2 separate regions of the Homo sapiens genome follow, and region 1 is linked to region 2. Evidence: promoter capture Hi-C in human tissues and cell types (Jung and others, 2019). All regions are on one chromosome and are shown on one strand. Each heading gives the region's core, a stretch centred on a gene start or on the middle of the fragment in contact. The rest is flanking DNA. Distances are from core to core; before and after follow the strand shown. Region 1 has its middle 4.3 kb from the start of MRPS23. Region 2 holds the start of COIL (coilin).

Region 1 (3,317 bases), core at 432-2,931, 890 kb before region 2:
CTATGATTATCCCCACTTTACAAATGAAGCTGAGGCCCAGAGGACTGTAAAAGAGAACTATCTGTCAGTGAGGCACAGAGGACAGCCAGACCGGAAATGCTCACGATGTGAAGTGAATGGTGAGGTAGGGGATTATTTCCATTCACCCACAGCTCTCTCCCTATCTGTGTATCTGGGGAAGGCCTCAAAGGAAAGCTGGGCCTGGGAGAGAGGGAGGGCTGGGTATGCACAGGCAGTGAAGGGAAGGCTGAGATGACAGCATCCTCATTTGTCCTAACTTGGCTTTATTTATCCATGCTGTTCACTGGAAAACTCTGAGAGCTGTGGGCCAAGCACCAGGCCGGGTGTGGGGAGGCAGAGCTAAAAGTCCTAGTTCCTGCCCTCAAAAAGGCCCCTGTAGCCAGACTCAGACAGGTAAACAGAGTTACAACACAGACATAGCCCTGAAAGAGATAAGCATAGGAAGGGAGGGAGCAGGTCTGGGCACTCACCCGATCTTACCGAGTGTGTGCTGGGGGCTGAAAAGCTTTTCCACCTGAACTGATTCTTGACAGTTCCTTGAAGCCTAGGAAGGGGGTCTGAAGGGGAGCTCTCAGGAGAGGGGCACAAGCCCAACAGCCGGAAGGAAAGAGAAGGTACTCTGACTCCCCCCCCCCTTTTTTTTTTTTTTTGAGATGGAGTCTTGCTCTGTCGCCCCAACTGGAATGCAGTGGCACGATCTCAGTTCACTGCAACCTCCGCCTCCTGGGTTCAAGCAATTCTCTTGGCTCAGCCTTCCAAGTAGCGAGTAGCTAGGATTGTAGGTGCCAACCACCATGCCTGGCTAATTTTTAAATTTGTAGTAGAGACGGGGTTTCATCACGTTGGCCAGGCTGGTCTCGAACTCCTGACCTCAAGTGATCCACCCACCCCGGCCTTCCAAAGTGCTGGGATTACAGGCGTGAGCAGCTGTGCCTGGCTGCCTCCTCCTTTAATAGCCCTCCCTGCCCTTCATCCTCCTGGTCCTCAGACTCAGGAAGCCTACAATTCTTTTTTTTTTAACGGATCCTGATATAATCCTCTCTCTCTTTTTTTAGAGAAAAGGGCTCACTTTGTCACACAGGTTGGGGTGCAGTGGCACGATCATAGTTCACTGCAGCTGCGAACTCCTGGGCGCAAGCAATCTTCTTGTCTCAGCCTCATGAGTAGCTAGCACTACCAGCTTGTGCCACTGCACTGGCTAACTTTTTTCTTTCTCTTCTTTTCTTCTTCTTTTTTTTTTTTTTTTTTTTTTTTTTTTTGTAGAGACAAGGTCTCGCTATGTTGGCCAGGCTAGTCTCAAACTCCTGGCCTCAAGTCATCCTCCCGCCTTGGCCTCCCAAAGTGCTGGGATTACAGACATGATCCTCCACAGCTGGCCTGACATAATTCTTAAACTGTGTATTGAATATACTGTATTGCTTTCCTCCCTTTAAAGCTAATTGCTCCCTGATTTTAGCTGTCATAGGTGAGTAGCAGCATTCATGATTTCATCAGTGTGCTGGGAGTTTCACTTACCAAAGCTGTTCCACTACTGGGGATGATGCTCTTCCTCATTTTGTCTGACAAATTCCCACACAATATTTATTTATTTATTTTTGAGACGGAGTCTTGCTCTGTTACTCAGGGTGGAGTGCAGTGGTGCAATCTCAGCTCACTGCAACCTCCGCTTCCTGGGTTCAAGTGATTCTCCTGCCTCAGCCTCCCAAGTAGCTGGGATTACAGGTGTGTGCCATGACACCCGCCTAATTTTTTTTATTTTTTATTTTTTATTTTATTTTTAGTAGAGACGAGGTTTCGCCATGTTGGCCAGGCTGGTCTCGAACTCCTGACCTCAAGTGGTCCACCCGCCTTGGCCTCCCAAAGTGTTGGGATTACAGGCATGAGCCATCACGCCTGACCTCCACGCACTATTTAAATACGGGCATTGTCACAAAGATGTGGGCAGAGTGATGGGAAGCCACAAGGGATGGCCTAGACCCCGTGGCTAATAACAGAGGGGTACAGCTTGCCAACTACGTCTAGGCTTGAAGGAGCAGGAGAGGGACGGTGGCTGGAACCTGGTGAGAGAGCTGTGATTTTATGTTCTAGAACTTTATGTTCCAGGAGGGAGCCCGCTGGCAGTACCAACTGGAATCCAGCCAGAAGCAGAGGGCAAGGAGCTGGTGGATGCAGGCCACAGAAGCCAGCCTCCCGAGGCACAGAACAGGGCGAAGGACGGCAGAGAGTGGGTGTGGAACTGCTTGGGCAAATGGGAACTATTCAGCACTTACTGATCTATGTTAGGGGCTGAGCTGTGTCTCCCCAAAAATCATATGTTGAGGTCCTAACTCCAGTACCTCAGAATGTGACTATAATAGGAGGTAGTCTTTAAAGAGGTAATTAAGTTAAAATGAAGTCAGTAGGGTGGGCCCTAATCCAATAAGACTGGTGTCCTCATAAGAAGAGATTAGGACAAAACCTTCCCACACAGAGGAAAGACCATGTGAAGACGTGGGAGAAGAAAGCTGTCTCCAAGGCAAGGAGAAACTAGCCAAGTGCAGAATAAACTAAACTTGCAGACACCTTGATCTTGGACTTCTGGCCTCCAGAATAGGGAGAAAATAAATCTGTGTTTAAGCCACCCACTTTGTGTGCAAGTGGTGTTAGGGCAGGCCTAGCAAACTTCATACAATCAACAAGCTATTCAGCACATAACTTAATATTTATGTATTTACCTCTCTGTCTTCCCTACTGGACCGTTGGATTCTCTAAGACTCAGAATAGTCAGGTAGGTGTTTATATGCTTCTGGAACGAACGGATCATCTAACAAGAAAGTAAAACAGTAAGGCAATCTATGAAATATTATCAAAATGCTGCAGTCCAGGTGGCAATGGGTGGATGACACAGCACAACAGCAATCGTGTTGCTGTTACAGCCATCAGGCTTGTTGCTGCTCACAGGCACTCACTATGTCCCAGGTGCCGTGATTAGTGCTTTACATGAATGATCTCTTTTACTTTTGCAACAAGCCACGAAGATAGTTGACACTGCCATCCAGATTATTATTATTATTATTATTATTATTATTATTATTATTTGAGACAGGGTCTTGGCTCTGTTGACCAGGCTGGAGTGCAGTGGTGTGATCATGGCTCACTGCAGCCTTGAACTCCTGGGCTCAGGCCATCCTCCCACCTCAGTCCCCTGAGTAGCTGGGATTACAGGCATGCACCACCACACCTGGCTAATTTTGCCCAGGCTGGTTTTGATCTCCTGGCTTAAGCAATCCTCCCACACTGGCCTCCCAAAATGTTGG
Region 2 (3,249 bases), core at 437-2,936:
ATCTACCAGAATGACTAAAAAATAGTGACAATGCCAAATGGTAGTCAGGATGTGGAGAAACTGGGATTACAGGGGTGAGCCACTGCGCCCAGCCGGAAATGCCCAAAAGTTATCCTGTATGGTGTAAAAGGGGAGTAACCCTCAGTTCTGAGGGAAATCCCTGCCCCTTTCCTAGGGATACAGAAAACTCATGAATAATCCATCCTTTGTTTAGCATACAGTCAAGAAGTAACTATAAGTATACTTGACTGAGTATACTTATAGTATGGGCTCGCTGCTCTGTCTATGGAGTAGTCATTCTTTTATTCCTTTAATTCTCTAATAAACTTGATTTTAGTCGGAGGTGGTGGCTCATGCCTGTAATCCCACCACTTTGGGAGGCCAAGGCAGGCAGATTGCTGGAATTCAGGAATTCGAGACCAGCCTGGCCACCATGGAAAAACCCTATCTCTACAAAAAATACAAAAATTAGCTGGGCTTGGTGGCTCACACCTGTGGTTCCAGCTACTAGGAAGGCTGAGGTGGGAAGTCACTTGAACCCGGGAGGCAGAGTGCACCACGGCACTCCAGCCTAGGTGACAGAGCAAGACTCTAAAAAAAGAAAATCCAAAAACCCTTACTTTCAGTTAAAAAATTTTGTTTTCAATTCATCTACTGACTCCCTGGTATCTACAACTTAACTAGTCTAGTGAACTTGGGGAAGTTACTCCTTTTTTTTTTTTTAAGACAGAATCTTGCTCTATTGCCCAGGCTGGAGTGCAGTGGCACGATCCTGACTCACTGCAACCTCCACCTCTTGGGTTCAAGCGATTCTACTGCTTCAGTCTCCCGAGTAGCTGGAATTATAGGCACATGCCACCACACCCGGCTAATCTTTATATTTTTAGTAGAGTTGGGGTTTCACCATTTTGGCCAGGGTGGTCTCAGACTCCTGGTCTCAAGTGATCCGCCCACCTTGGCCTCTCAAAGTGCTGGGATTACAGGCGTCAGCCACTGCTCCTGGCCTCTAGTTACTTCTTAAACTCTCTGAACCTTGTTTTTTTTAAATCCTCTAAATAAGGATAACAGTTCATAATTCCTAACTTTTGTTATGAAAATTAAAGGAGTTAATATATATTATGTGGAGAAATGTAAATTCTAGTTCAAAAAATAGAAGAAATAATGTAAATACTGATTTATTTATCTGGTGAGAAATGCAAGGACATTTTTGTTTGGTGGTGGGTATTAAAAGGCTAAGGTATTTATATTCCACTGGATACATTTGGAAGAATGATTAACAGTGTTATTTCAAAATTTCAACATTGAGAACACACTAGGACTTACATCTTTTTCAACTCATCATGATGAAAAATTTTGTCAGCGAAATGTGTTAGGATTGTTTTATAAAAATCTTTCACGTCGATGAGCAAATATCTTAGAAGACTACTGCTGAGGAGAAATGTTATTTATCCAGAGAGTTGCCTTAATTAGGAGACCCTACATAGCGCCCAGTAGAAATGTAATAAAGGCATTTCACTTATTCCCTTCCTCAGCCCTGCCGTGAACAAAATTGAATGAAATCAACCACGCTCCGAGTTCTCGCCTAGACGCAGCCTGTAGTAGCCAGGTTTCACCACTAGGTGGCACACGCCAAAGGCTCCGGCGGGGGCGAGCCGCCCGAGCACGCCTCTCGGTGGCCCCGTGGTATCTCTCGGCTTCCGTTGAGCACCAAGCAAGATGGCAGCTTCCGAGACGGTTAGGCTACGGCTTCAATTTGATTACCCGCCGCCAGCTACCCCGCACTGTACGGCCTTCTGGCTTCTGGTCGACTTGAACAGATGCCGAGTCGTCACAGATCTCATTAGTCTCATCCGCCAGCGCTTCGGCTTCAGTTCTGGGGCCTTCCTAGGCCTCTACCTGGAGGGGGGGCTCTTGCCCCCCGCCGAGAGCGCGCGCCTTGTGAGAGACAACGACTGCCTCAGGTGCGCGGCGCAGGGAGCGGGACGGCCGGGTGGGCGGCGGGCGGGGGACGCGCCTGCGCACGCCCGGGCCTGAAGCCGCTAGACCTGGTAGTGGAGGGGATGGGGGATGGGGAAGGGGACGAGGGTTGGAGGGGGGTGGGGCTGTAAAAATGCACGTTCGCGAACCCCGGAGATCCTGATTGGTGTAGTCAACTTTGGGGCTCAGGAATCTGCATTTTATTATTATTTTTTATTATTATTTTTTTTTTTTTGAGACGGAGTCCTGCTTTGTCACCCAGGCTGGAGTACAGTGGCGCGATCTCGGTTCACTGCAACCTCCACCTCCCGGGTTCAAGCAATTTTCCTGCCTCAGCCTCCCGAGTAGCTGGGACTACAGGCGTCCGCCACCACGCCCGGCTAATTTTTGTATTTTTAGTAGAGATGGGGTTTCACCATATTGGTCAAGGTGGTCTCGAACTCCTGACCTCAGTTGATCCGCTTGCATCGGCCTCTCAAAGTGCTGGGATTGCAGGCGTGCACCACCGCATCCTGCCCCTATTATTTTTATTTTTGAGACTGAGTCTCATTCTGTCACCCAGGCTGGAGTGCAGTGGCGCGATCTCAGCTCACTGCAGCCTCCACCTCCCGGGTTCAATCGATCCTCCCACCTCAGCCTCCCGAGTAGCTGGGCTTACAGGCGGGCGCCACCATGCCCGGCTAATTTTTTGTTTGTTTGTTTGTATTTTTAGTAGAGACGGGGTTTCACCGTGTTGGCCAGGCTGGTCTTGAACTCCTGACGTTAAGTGATCCTCCCGGCTTCCCAAAGTGCTGGGATTACAGGCGTGAGCCTCCGCGCCTGGCTGGAATCTGCAGTGTAACGAGCATCCTTCCCGGGATGCTTCTGATGACAGGAGAATCAAACTTGGAAAATCCCTGATGCCTAAGGGCAGGGCCAGGCTTTCTTTCAGCCTTGATTTAGCACATCCGCGCTTAGCTAGGCACTGTGCGACTCTGTTGCGTGCCCATGGTGCAGATGTGCCGGAGACCCGGCCTTACCCATGGCGGCCTTCAGGGTCAGGTGCAGGAAGCTGACAAAGGGGAATCGTTGTGTTTTCTTCATAACCTGCTGTTGTCCAGCCTTAGTTCTCATGTGCCCAGTGTCCCCTGAGACTTCTGGTGGCGTATCATTTTGTGTCTCACCCAGACATTTTGGGATTCTCTCAAATAAGTGTCTTGAGTCCTTTTGGGCTGTAAATTGGGAAACACAAAATAATCTTAAATATGCTTTTGGAAGTTAAAAAAATGATAA

The links. The method cuts DNA at HindIII sites, captures the fragments that hold promoters and counts their contacts. A contact is called where the count stands out against the background at its distance.
Region 1: a contact is called between a fragment that was not itself captured here and the fragment with the promoter of COIL in region 2, in 1 of the 25 tissues and cell types used here (spleen).

The regions. Positions count from the first base shown.
Region 1 is chr17:57,852,710-57,856,026 of GRCh38, reverse strand. No RefSeq gene overlaps it. Among named protein-coding and RNA genes, the nearest start is that of MRPS23, 4.3 kb to the right of the region's middle. The HindIII fragment of the contact is 4,394 bases long and covers 1-3,317 here.
Region 2 is chr17:56,959,487-56,962,735 of GRCh38, reverse strand. COIL (coilin) reads left to right here and starts at 1,686. Exons shown (of 7, transcript NM_004645.3): 1 at 1,686-1,961. The coding sequence starts at 1,717. LOC105371836 (a long non-coding RNA gene) reads right to left here and starts at 1,588. Exons shown (of 4, transcript XR_934875.4): 1 at 1,324-1,588. RefSeq lists enhancers at 1,605-1,654, 1,665-1,804, 1,554-1,848 and a silencer at 1,975-2,084. The HindIII fragment of the contact is 17,787 bases long and covers 1-3,249 here.